Regions from separate parts of the Homo sapiens genome. Here region 2 is linked to region 1. The links are contacts of gene promoters, found by promoter capture Hi-C in human tissues and cell types (Jung and others, 2019). All regions are on one chromosome and are shown on one strand. Each heading gives the region's core, a stretch centred on a gene start or on the middle of the fragment in contact. The rest is flanking DNA. Distances are from core to core; before and after follow the strand shown. Region 1 holds the start of ZDHHC22 (zDHHC palmitoyltransferase 22). Region 2 holds the start of TMEM63C (transmembrane protein 63C).

What was found. The method cuts DNA at HindIII sites, captures the fragments that hold promoters and counts their contacts. A contact is called where the count stands out against the background at its distance.
Region 2: a fragment that was not itself captured here is called in contact with the fragment with the promoter of ZDHHC22 in region 1 in 1 of the 25 tissues and cell types used here (dorsolateral prefrontal cortex).

Annotation. Positions count from the first base shown.
Region 1 is chr14:77,139,543-77,144,974 of GRCh38, forward strand. It overlaps ZDHHC22 (zDHHC palmitoyltransferase 22), which reads right to left and starts at 2,249. Exons shown (of 3, transcript NM_174976.2): 1 at 2,061-2,249; 2 at 1-210. The coding sequence starts at 196. RefSeq lists enhancers at 1-502, 640-1,203, 1,204-1,767, 1,862-2,363. The HindIII fragment of the contact is 26,670 bases long and covers 1-5,432 here.
Region 2 is chr14:77,177,194-77,182,625 of GRCh38, forward strand. TMEM63C (transmembrane protein 63C) reads left to right here and starts at 4,605. Exons shown (of 24, transcript NM_020431.4): 1 at 4,605-4,701. RefSeq lists an enhancer at 4,926-5,055. The HindIII fragment of the contact is 3,287 bases long and covers 342-3,628 here.

The sequences.
Region 1 (5,432 bases), core at 999-3,498:
CGTAATTGCCCAGGGCGTTGGCCGAGAGGAATAGGAAGAGCGCCCCGTGGAGCAGGGCGGGCGAGAAGAGCCGGGCGGCCGCGGGGTCCTCGCGCATGCTGGGCAGGAAGAGGAAGAGCTGCAGCACGAAGGTCACCAGGGAGATGCACAAGAAGTAGGCGGGGGCCACCACGTTGAGCAGCCGCAGGGCCAGCATCCTCGATTACATTCCTGCGGGGCCCGGGGTGAGAAGAGGACTGACTGACTACGGCGTCCAGGGGGCGCCCTCGCCCGCTCCTCCGTGCCGCGCGTCTGGGGCACTGCACGCGACTCCACGCCCCCAACCCCCTGTCCCGCGGATTTCCCCTCCCCAGTTCCCTAACCCCGGATCAGGCAGGCCAGAGACCCGAGCCCGCAGCGGCCTCGGGTCTAGGCCCCACCTGGGGGTGAGTGTTGCCTGGGGTTTTGAGCGAGCTCGGCGCCTTGGCGCGGCAGAGTCTGGCACAGGAGGGAGGGACTCGTTTGCAGTCTTTAGGAGTTGTGAGGGTGGGGGGCACCGGGGGATAGGACTCCTCCCCTCTGTGGATGTGGAAACAAGCCCAGGTTTGGGATTTCTGGTTCAGACCTCCCTAGGAGGAGAAAGGGAAGGATTTGGGGTCGGGGGCAGGAGAATCAGCGGCACTTGACCTGCTGGAAATCCTGCTTCACACTCCCCTTTCTCCGTCCCTGCGTCCCCACCCACACACACATCTTGGGCAGCACTCAGGGACCTCACCAGGTTACCCAAGGCTCTTTGGAGGTATGTGTGCGTGAGGGACCACGATGTGTGTGTGTGTGTCCTTGTCTGTGACTCTGTACGTGTAATCTGTGTGCGCTTGAGTATCTGTATTTGTGTATGTATATATCTGCGTGTACAGACACGCAGCCTCTGCTATCTAGCTTTAAAAAAATCAATTGAAACAATCGATACACTCACACTCGCTCTCGGGCACCGGGTGAGGTGGGGGCGCAACCAGAATACCTGTGTCAGCGGGTCCTGGCCAGCACATCTCTCCAACGCTGGCTGCCCGGGCTATTTCTTTGCGAAGAGCGTTTTCATTTGAGGCGAAATTAAAATCCCCCCTTCGCGCCCGCCTCCCGCCCTCCTGCTGAGAGAAACCCAAACAACCCTCATGGCGCCGAAATCCTTTCCATGCCGACAAGCCCGCCCTGGGCGCACGAGTGGATGCTTGGCCAGCCTTTCCTGGGATCGACCCCGCCGCCGTGCTCAGCCCTCACCACGTCCCCATCCCACCCCACGCCTCACAGCCGGGGTTCCTGGCCAGCTTCGGAAGCCACCGAGAAATAGGATTCCGTGCGCCCGAGAGAACTTTTCCAGGGGCTAAGGAATCGGCCAGCCGGAGGCGCGAGAAAAGTTCTGGGAAGGCGGTTGCACCTAGGATGGGTGGATGCCACGGGGCCTCCGTCCAGGCTGTCCCGTCCGCACGGGTCGACTGGTCACCTTGGAATCCCCTTTGCAGGTCCCAGCGCCCCCCGGGAACCCGCAGCCTCCGCGGAGAGCGTGGGCCTCTCCCTACCGCTGGGGCGCAGCGCAGTGCACGCCTGAGGGTGGTCGCCGGGGGCTGGGCACGCCCCCAGTCCTGCGCCGCCGGGGGCTGCGGCGGTGCTGCCCACCCCAGAGAGCCCTCGGCCTGGGGCTCCGGCGAAGCAAGTGCCTTCCCGGCGCCGGTCGCCAGGGGGGCGCGGGAGCAGCCAGATGCGCCGCAGCGCTGGGAAGGCGGCGAAGGACAGGGGCTAGGGGAGTGAGGGGCGCTCGGCAGGCAGCCTCAGCCCTGGCCCTGCGCGGGAGAAGGGACAGCAGAGACCGCCCGTGGGGCCCCGGGGTGTAGGGAGCTGTCCGTTCAGCCCTGGCGCCCGCCTCGCCCGCGGCAGAGGGCGGCACAGCCGGAGCCTTGGAAAGACCGGCAGCGCCGGCAGCCGCGGGCTTCTCGGCCACTGCCTCCCGGACGCACGGGAAGCCGCCCCCCGCGCCGCCGCCGCCGCACTGCCGCCGTCGCAGAGGGGTGAGGAAATCAACTCACCGAGCTCTGGTCGCCGACAAGAGGAGCCCCGGACGCCGGCTCTCGCCCTGCCCGAGGCTGCAAAGTTGTGGACTCGGCCCGGCTGGCTCGCAGCCTGCGCTTCGCTTCGGGAACTGGGCAAGTAGCGGGGATGTGGGGAGGAGGGAGCGGGCAGCTGCTGGCTTCCCACTTGGGCGCCAGCGAGTAAGGGCCAGGAAGCGGCGGGGATGGCAGCTGGGCACCCCCCAGCCCCGCCACCCCTCCCTCCGCTCCTGGGGGCGGTGCTCTGGCCGCCAGTCTCAGCATCGTGGACTTGCCCCCTCCTCCCCTCTCGATTCCCCTTGAGCGGGCTGGGGCGCCCTGCCTGGTTTCAGCGCCCGTTCCAGCTGGGAGATTGGGATTCAGCCCTGATGTGGATTCTCCAGCCATCATCCTGCCCTTCCCTCTCGGCTAGGTCCCACGACCTTCCCTGCTCTCCACTCGGACTGAAGGAACCCTGGGGGCTTGAGAGGTCAGCTTGCCAGGGCAACACCCATGAAGATCAGCGTCATCTCCTCGGAAGGGCTGTGTACAGAGGGTTGGGAGTTGGGACTCTGGAGCCTGTCTACCTGGGTTTGAATATTCACCATTCACTACTGTGAGATCTCAGATTCCAGTTTCTTCGTCTGTAAATTCCAGTGTGATCTTAGATTCCAGTTTCCTCATCTGTGAAATAGAGATATGAGGGTTAAATGACAATCTATGTAAAACCCTTAAACAGGGCCTGCCCAGGGCAAGCACTGCTTGATTAGATCATAATTAGACACTACTTATCGGGCCCCTACTAGGTAGCAGGCATTGTGCTAAGCCTTTAGCATAAGATGCTTCCTTAATCCTCTCAGCCTGATCTGTGAAGCTGGCTGAGCCCCATTCTGGAGATGAGGAGGTTGAAGCTCAGAGAAGCTAAGTCTCATGTCTAAGGTCATACAGCCATTAAGTGACAGAGCCTGGACTTGAACCTGGTTCTAGCATTAATGCTCCTGCACTCAGCCTCTACACAGCCCAGCATCACCCTGGGACCCACGGGCAGCTCTGATTTGAGAGAAGGAAAGACAATGGGAGTTTATCCAGACACAGAGCTTGAACTTGGAGCTTCTTCTTTGAGCCTCACCCCCACCTTCTTATTTCTATTTCCTTCCCCTTCCAGGGCTCCGCTATTCTAAGGTGGGTACTGTGATGCGCCAAGAGGGTAGTGACACCAATGTGTATCAAACAGTGGGGGGTGGGGGGAGCAGAGCCTTAAAAACATCAAACACTGCAGGAATATTGGTGCCATCACCATCCTCAATTTCCTGGGTGTCGCAGCTCACCTACCTGCCCTGTTCCTCTCCTCTCGGTGATGGCATACTTAATAAATAAACATTTATTGCTTTCTCAACTGGCTGATTAAAACAAGAGCAATCCCTTGAAATGAGGGCCATATGCTGATCAGCTCAGCCTCTATTCTTGAATAACCACACACTGTTTCCTCTGTAATTTATCAGCATACATCAAAATAAAAAAGAGGCCAGGAAACCTTTTCACATTCTAAAAGGATCTGACATGTAAGTGAAAGAACAGTATATGCCACATGGTGGCCGTGAGCAGCTGGTAGCCTTGTGAGTTCCAGTGGCCACAGGACAGACATGGGGAGGCACACATGGCCCTTTTCCCTTCAGAGCAGCTTTGTCTCATAATCGTGGCCGTCTGGGCCCCTTTTCACAAGCTCTGTCTGCCTCTCACATGGGCTTGGCAGGGAGGGAGGCTGGCTGGGGTGCTTGGGTTTGGGTATACTGACTGAAGATCTCCATTCCCCAAATACCTTGTGAGTCGGGTGGTATTTCTAATTTTATTTTGCATATGGGTGTGAGGTGGGAAGGTGTGTGTCTGAATCTGTGTGTATGAGGAAAGGGAAAGAGAGAAAGAAGCTAAGCGAACGTGGGAAGATGTTAGTGGGGGAAGGGAGTATTCAGTCAGGAAAAGGAGATCTGGTCGTGGAAACACAAATGGACAAGGACGATTATTTATTTAGAAATATCGTTTATCAACAGAAAAGGACATTACAGCTTCAGATCTAAAGCTAGTGGTTCCTCAGCTCCCCTTAAGGAATGGAGTGAAGGGAAGCACGGCAAATGTCATTTTGTTTTTCTAAAACTTATGCTTATCCCTGACAAAATCAATAGGGAGGCAAAATCAATATGAAAACTTCACTTGGATTCTGGCCCTATGAGAGTCAAGCAGACTAAGAATGAGCATTTTATTGCCATTTACCAGCTGTGTGACCATGAGCTGCTAGTCATTTAACCTCTCTGCTCTCAGTATTCTCATCGGTAAAATGGGAATAAGAATGCTGCTGTTATTTGTGGTGATGATGATCAAATGGGATCATGTAATTTAAGCACCTTAGCGTCTCCCACATCTTTAGGGCTCCTCTTTTCAACCACAGGACTCTCTTCACTTTCCAACTAAAATGAGAGCTCCTTGCCTATGTTGGAAATGTTTTGGGGTTTCTTCCATATTTCCTAATAGGATGATTTGCCCAGAGTTGACACTGAGTAAAAGTCTCTTGATCGATGAATTGCTACTGGTCTGTCTGTGAAAGGAAGAGCTATATTCTGAGGTCTTTGAAATGTCTGGTGAGGGCCAGATGCATTGGCTCACACCTGTAATCCCAGCACTTTGGGAGGCTGAGGCAGGCAGATCACCTGAGGTCAGGAGTCCGAAACCATCCTGGCCAACATGGGGAAACCCCGTCCCTACTAAAAATATAAAAATTAGCCAGGCGTGGTGGCCAGTGCCTGTAATCCCAGCTACTCAAGAGGCTGAGACAGGAGAATCGCTTGAACCCAGGAGGCAGAGGTTGCTGTGACCCAAGACCATGCCATTGCACTCCAGCCTGGGTGACAGATCAAGACTCTGTCTCAAAGAGAAATATCTGCTGAGGACACATTTGCCATTGATCTTGCAACCTGCCACCACCCACCCTGACTCTAATCTCATCCTCCATAAACAGTGACAGAAATGATTTATAAACCACACTCTCCATTGCTCTTGCTGTAGATTCCTATAGTTAAGCCATAACTGTACCTGCAGGCAGTCCCATGGGGACAGGGGCACAGATAAGCATCTCATTGCTGTCCAGCCCTTTCCTGGAGATATGCGCCCTCAATCTTGCTATTTGGTGGTGTTATTTGAATAAAATGAATTCCCTTTCAAGTGGAAATTATTCCACTTTGCTTCAGAGTGTTGTATTACAAGGAGAGAAATCCATGTAGCAAGCAGCTTCTGCCTTGAGTGAGTAACCCCGCCTCCATGTCTGTCAGGCCTATAATGCCCCAAATGTTTTGGATGGAGACTATTCCAAGATGCAAGGAG
Region 2 (5,432 bases), core at 735-3,234, 37 kb after region 1:
ATTTAAGGTAGGTTAAGCTATGATGTTTGGTAGATTAGGTGGTGTGTTAGTCCGTCCTCATGCTGCTGATAAAGACATACCTGAGACTCGATAATTTATAAAGAAAAGAGGTTTAATTGACTCAGTTCCACATGGCTGGGGAGGCTTCAGGAAACTTACAATCACGATGGAAGGGGAAGCAAACCCATCTTTCTTCACATGACAGCAGGAAGAGAAGTGCTGAGCAAAAGGGGAAAAGCCCCTCCTGAGTAGTTGGGATTACAGGCGCCCGCCACCACACCTGGGTAATTTTTTGTATTTTTAGCAGAGACAGGGTTTCACCATGTTAGCCAGGAGGGTCTCGATCTCCTGACCTCGTGATCCACCCGCCCCGGTCTCCCAAAATGCTGGGATTATAGGCGTGAGTCACTGCGCCCGGCCTTTTTTTTTTTTTTTTTTTTTTTAATCGTTGTTCTCTCTTCTCTTGCTCTTGACTTTTGCCCTTTTCACTGTGCTTGCTTTCTTATTAGTCCTTTCCCCTTCTAACATGCTCCTGCTCATCTGCTGTGGTTTTGAAAATCAGGAAAGTGGCTTCTCCTTTAGGCTATTGGTTCAGCTGCTGCAACAGAGACCAGACAATAGTGACTTTACAAGGTTATTGCTCTCCCGTGAGAAAAATGCAAGGTGGTCAACATTGTAGGGCACTTCTCCAGGTCATCTTGTGACTCAAGTTCTTCCTGCCTTGATGCTTGACTGTCTCTAGGGAGTTGTCCTGGTCAGCATCATCAAAGCTGCCCTCCCCTCCACCCCATGTCCACATCCCAGTCTTCACAAAGAGGAAAGAGGAAGTAGAGAACAGCCAGCTTCCTTTTAAGTATGTGGCCCAGAAATTAAACCTATTACTTCCACTCATATCTCACTGGCTAGGACTTAGTTCATACTTCCACCTGGCTTCGAGGGGTTCTGGGATATGTGGTCTATAGTAGGAGAGCCATAAATCCAGGTTTTAATCTTGGGAGCTCTACTGCAAAAAGGAAGAGGGAAAGAAAAGGGGCTCTTAGCAGTCTCTGCCACACTGGATCTATTGAAATTTTGTGTGGAGTAAATAAAGGTGGGCACCAATTGAAGACACAAGGTGATCTGCAGAAAAAGCCCCTCCCCTCCCCTCCTCTTCCCTCACCTCCCCTCCCCTCCTCTTCCCTCCCCTCCTCTTCCCTCCCCTCCTCTTCCCTCCCCTCCTCTTCCTTCCCCTCCCCTCCTCTTCCCTCCCCTGCCCTCCCCTCCCCTCCTCTCCTCTCCTTTCTGATGTAGATCTCTCTATATTGCCCAGGCTGGTCTCAACCTCCTGGCCTCGAGAAATCCTCCTGCCTCAGCCTCCCAAGTAGCTGGGATTACAGGTGTGAGCCACCACACTTGGCTTCCATCCCCCTTTTCTGTACCTCTCTCTCTGTCTATTTTTTTTTTCTTTTGAGACGGAGTCTCGCTCTGTCGCCCAGGCTGGAGTGCAGTGGTGCCATCTCAGCTCACTGTAAGGGTTACTCAGAGTCCTTTTGTTTCTTTTATATTGTTCTGGATTATGTTCCCAGACCAGACATTGGAGGTTAACAACGCGGTCATGAAGACAATAACAGGCATAATCTTTCAGATTTGACAACTCAGGCCAAAGGCACTCCCACCCCAATCCACAAGTGAGAGCATGATAAGTGTTTTCAGTGTCACAGACCAGAAGGGCCTTTCTTTTGAAAGCCTCAGTTATTCATACCCATACACCTTTACTGAGAACCTTCTACAAGCTGACACTCATCTAGGTGGTTGGTTGGGACATTGGGGTCATCTCTTTCCCCACCACACAGCCCACCTGGCATCTCCATGGGTTCTCCTCCTTCCATGGGTTCTCCTCCCTTCCTTCCCTTCCCTCCCTCCCTCCCTCCCTTCCTTCCCTTCCCCTTCCTTCCTTCTTTCCTTCCTTCCTTCCTTCCTTTCTTTCTTTTTCTTTCTTTCTTTCTTTCTTTCTTTCTTTCTTTCTTTCTTTCTTTCTTTCTTTCTTTCTTTCTTTTTCTTTCTTTCTCCTCTCCTCTCTTCCCCTCCCCTCCCCTCCCCTTCCCTCTCCTGCCCTCCCCTCCCCTCCTCTCCTCTCCGATGTAGGTCTCTCTATATTGCCCAGGCTTGTCTCAACCTCCTGGCCTCAAGAAGTCCTCCTGCCTCAGCCTCCCAGGTAGCTGGGATTACAGGTGTGAGCTACCACACCTGGCTTCCGTCCCCCTTTACTGTATCTTTCTTTTTTTTTCAAGACGGAGTCTCACTCTGTCGCCCAGCTGGAGTGCAGTGGTATGATCTCAGCTCACTGCAACCTCCGTCTCCTGGGTTCAAGTGATTCTCCTGCCTCAGCCTCCCAAGTAGCTGGGATTGCAGGTGCCCGCCACCACCCCCGACTAATTTTTGTATTTTTGGTTGAGACTGGGTTTCATCACATTGGCCAGGCTGGTCTCGAACTCCCAACCTCAAGTCATCTGCCCGCCTCAGCCTCCCAAACTGTTAGGATTATAGGCGTGAGCCACCACACCTGGCCTCTCTTTACGGCATGACCTTGATGCTTATCAGGTTTCTCCTCTAGGAGGTGGAGTGGGTTGGATATGGGCTTACAACAGCTTCTGTGATGATGAAGCAGAGAAGGAAAAGACGAACTGCTTTTGTTGAGAATTTATGCTGTCCCACCAGACTGTGAATAGCATAACTACAGCAACAACAATGAATATTTGCAGAGCATTTATTTTGTACATGGTATTTCATTTAATCCTCACAATCACCCTTTAAGCTTATGATTATTGTTTTCCCCCATTTTCCATATGCCAAAAAAAAAAAAAAGCACAGAGAGGTTAAGTCCCACATTTAGGTGGCCCAGCTGGGACTGAAATGCAGGCAGCTAGCGTTCCCAGCACTATTCTTGTATTGATCTGATTTGTCTTTGTACCCGCCAGCCTTTATCCTAGAAGAGAATAAAGGTGTCAGAGCAGAGGGGTGTGAGACCTCAACTAGCCCAGCCCTCTCAGAATTACAGATGAGAGGGAAAAACAAAGAGAGATCAAGTGAGCTACCCAAGGTTGCACAGCATGATAGCCGCTAAGCAAGGGCTGGAACCTAGACCCTGATGCCCTGTTGCCACTGCAGAATACGTGTTCAAAAGTCTTCCCGTCCCGTGAATGAAAAAGATAATGAGTGGGCCGGCGCGGTGGCTCACGCCTGTAATCCCAGCACTTTGGGAGGCTGAGGCGGGCGAATCACGAGGTCAGGAGATCGAGACAATTCTGGCTAACGCGGTGAAACCCCGTCTCTACTAAAAAATACAAAAAAAAAAAATTATCCGGGCGTGGTGGCGGGAGCTTGTAGTCCCAGCTACTCGGGAGGCTGAGGCAGGAGAATGGCGTGAACCTGGGAGGCGGAGCTTGCAGTGAGCCGAGATCACACCACTGCACTCCAGCCTGGGCGAGTGAGTGGATAATGGATAGACTTCGACAGAGTCTGTCTATGTGGCTCACCCTTGGGTCTTCGTGGGGTGGTTGGGTCATGAGAACCAGGGGGTCAGGGGAAGAGGGAGATGACTAGAGTGCGCCAGCCTGATACGGTTGTGTGGAAGGGGGTGCTGTGCTGCTGGTTATGGGGAAATCAACCCATGAAAGCATAACCAGCCTTTGACCCCCTCCTCTGGCACCTCATGACCTTGTGTTCACAGGGCTTCCTCTATGGCATTCTTATCATATTGTTAACAGCCCTAACTGGTGAAAGGGAGTCACTTTCAGAGAGCATTGGGCAGTGGCTTCTTTCCCATCAGCTATTGTACTGCAAGTGCCAGATAATGTCGATGACATAAATGTGCCTAGGCCCCTGCCTGGGAGGGAGAGGCTGTTTACTACTGCCCCTTGTTTTGCACACTGGTCTTTGGGGGTTGCAAACACTGGCACCTGTCCTCGGGGTCAAAACCAGTGTCTATAGCAGAGTGGGCAGGACTTTGATGAAACTCTGATACCTGCAGGATTGTGGCCCACCGCAAACCGGAAATGACCCAGCTCACTCCCTTGGCCCTCCCTGGTGGGGCTGTGGCCAATTGTAGATCACTCCTTTGCTGTAGAAGGAGTCTGGGTAGCAGCTGGGTACCAGCCACTAGGCTGGTGCCAGGACCTGGTCCTTGGGCGGGGCAGAGGGCTATCTTTGTGGGAGTGGAGTGGCTTTTCTTGCTTCTGGCTGATGGGACTAAGGAGACTGGGAAAGGCGACATGCCTCAGGGAGGGCGAGGGGAGGTGGCAAAGGAGCTGCCAAGGCCCAATGCATCAGGGCAGCTGGAGCAAGCTGGAACCAGGGACCGGCAGCCTTGTGTGTTTGAGATAGTAATTTGCAGATGGTTCCTGGTAGCGACAGGGTCTCTGAGGCGGAGCCTGGGTCTTCGCGTAGGATCTGCCAGCCTGGGTTCCCCGGCAGGTCAGAGAAGCTTTGGGGCGGGGCCAAGGTTGGCCCCTGCTTGGGAGGAGCCGGGATGCCTCTCTCACAGTGATGCAGAGAGGAATTTGCTGACAGTCCCTTGCCAGGTGGGGCTGGCTTCGCCCAGCCGGCGAGGAGGAGGACCCGCTGGCAGTCTCCTCCCAGGTGGGGAGCGTGGAGCCTGTCACTGCAGCCTGGCGGCCTGAGCGCCGAGCCTGGGGCTGGGGCCGCGGTGCTGAGGACGCAAATGTGGTGAGCACGCGATGCGGGTGCGGTGACCGGGGCTGGTCGGGCCGGGAAGAAGGGGCGCCGGATCCAGGTCCCGCACGGGGAGGGGGCGGGGAAGGATTGCTTGTTTCTGTGCTTTCTGAGACCTTGCATTGGGAGGGATGGGGGTAGGGGAGACTGCGCCACAGTCCCTTGCCACGCTGGCTGTCTCTAGCTTGTACCCAGGAAAGGGTGGCCTGAGCCGCCCACCCGGGAGGGCGTGGCTTTAGTAGACCGGTCTTCACTGGGTTGGGGGAACGGAGGTGGGTAGGAGGTTTGCTTGGGGGGTCCCCGGCCTCCTGCCTGACAGCCAGGTGGGAGTTACCGCTCGGGGCTACCCTCTCCCCCACCCAGGGATTCCCCGGGGCTCTGCCGCCCACTCTCTGGGCTGGGACGGGAGGGGGCAGTCTGCTCCGCCGTTATGGGTTATGACAACGTCACTGCTGCGCTGCTGCCTGGCGGGCTGGGCTCCTGGGCCCCCAGGGGAACAATGCCACCCTTTCCCCATGTGCTTCCAAAGAAAGGCTCTTGCCTCCCTACTCGCCCTGGCCTTGAGAGAGGAACGTTGTGTTTGGATGAAGGCCCTGGGGAAACTGAGGCCCAGGGGTGCTGTGGCTTGACCAAGGTCACTGAGCAGGCCCTACAGAGCTGGCCTCCCAGGCACTGCCTTCACCGAATGCCCTCTGGAGGGGCAGGGGCCCTTCTTCCTCTCT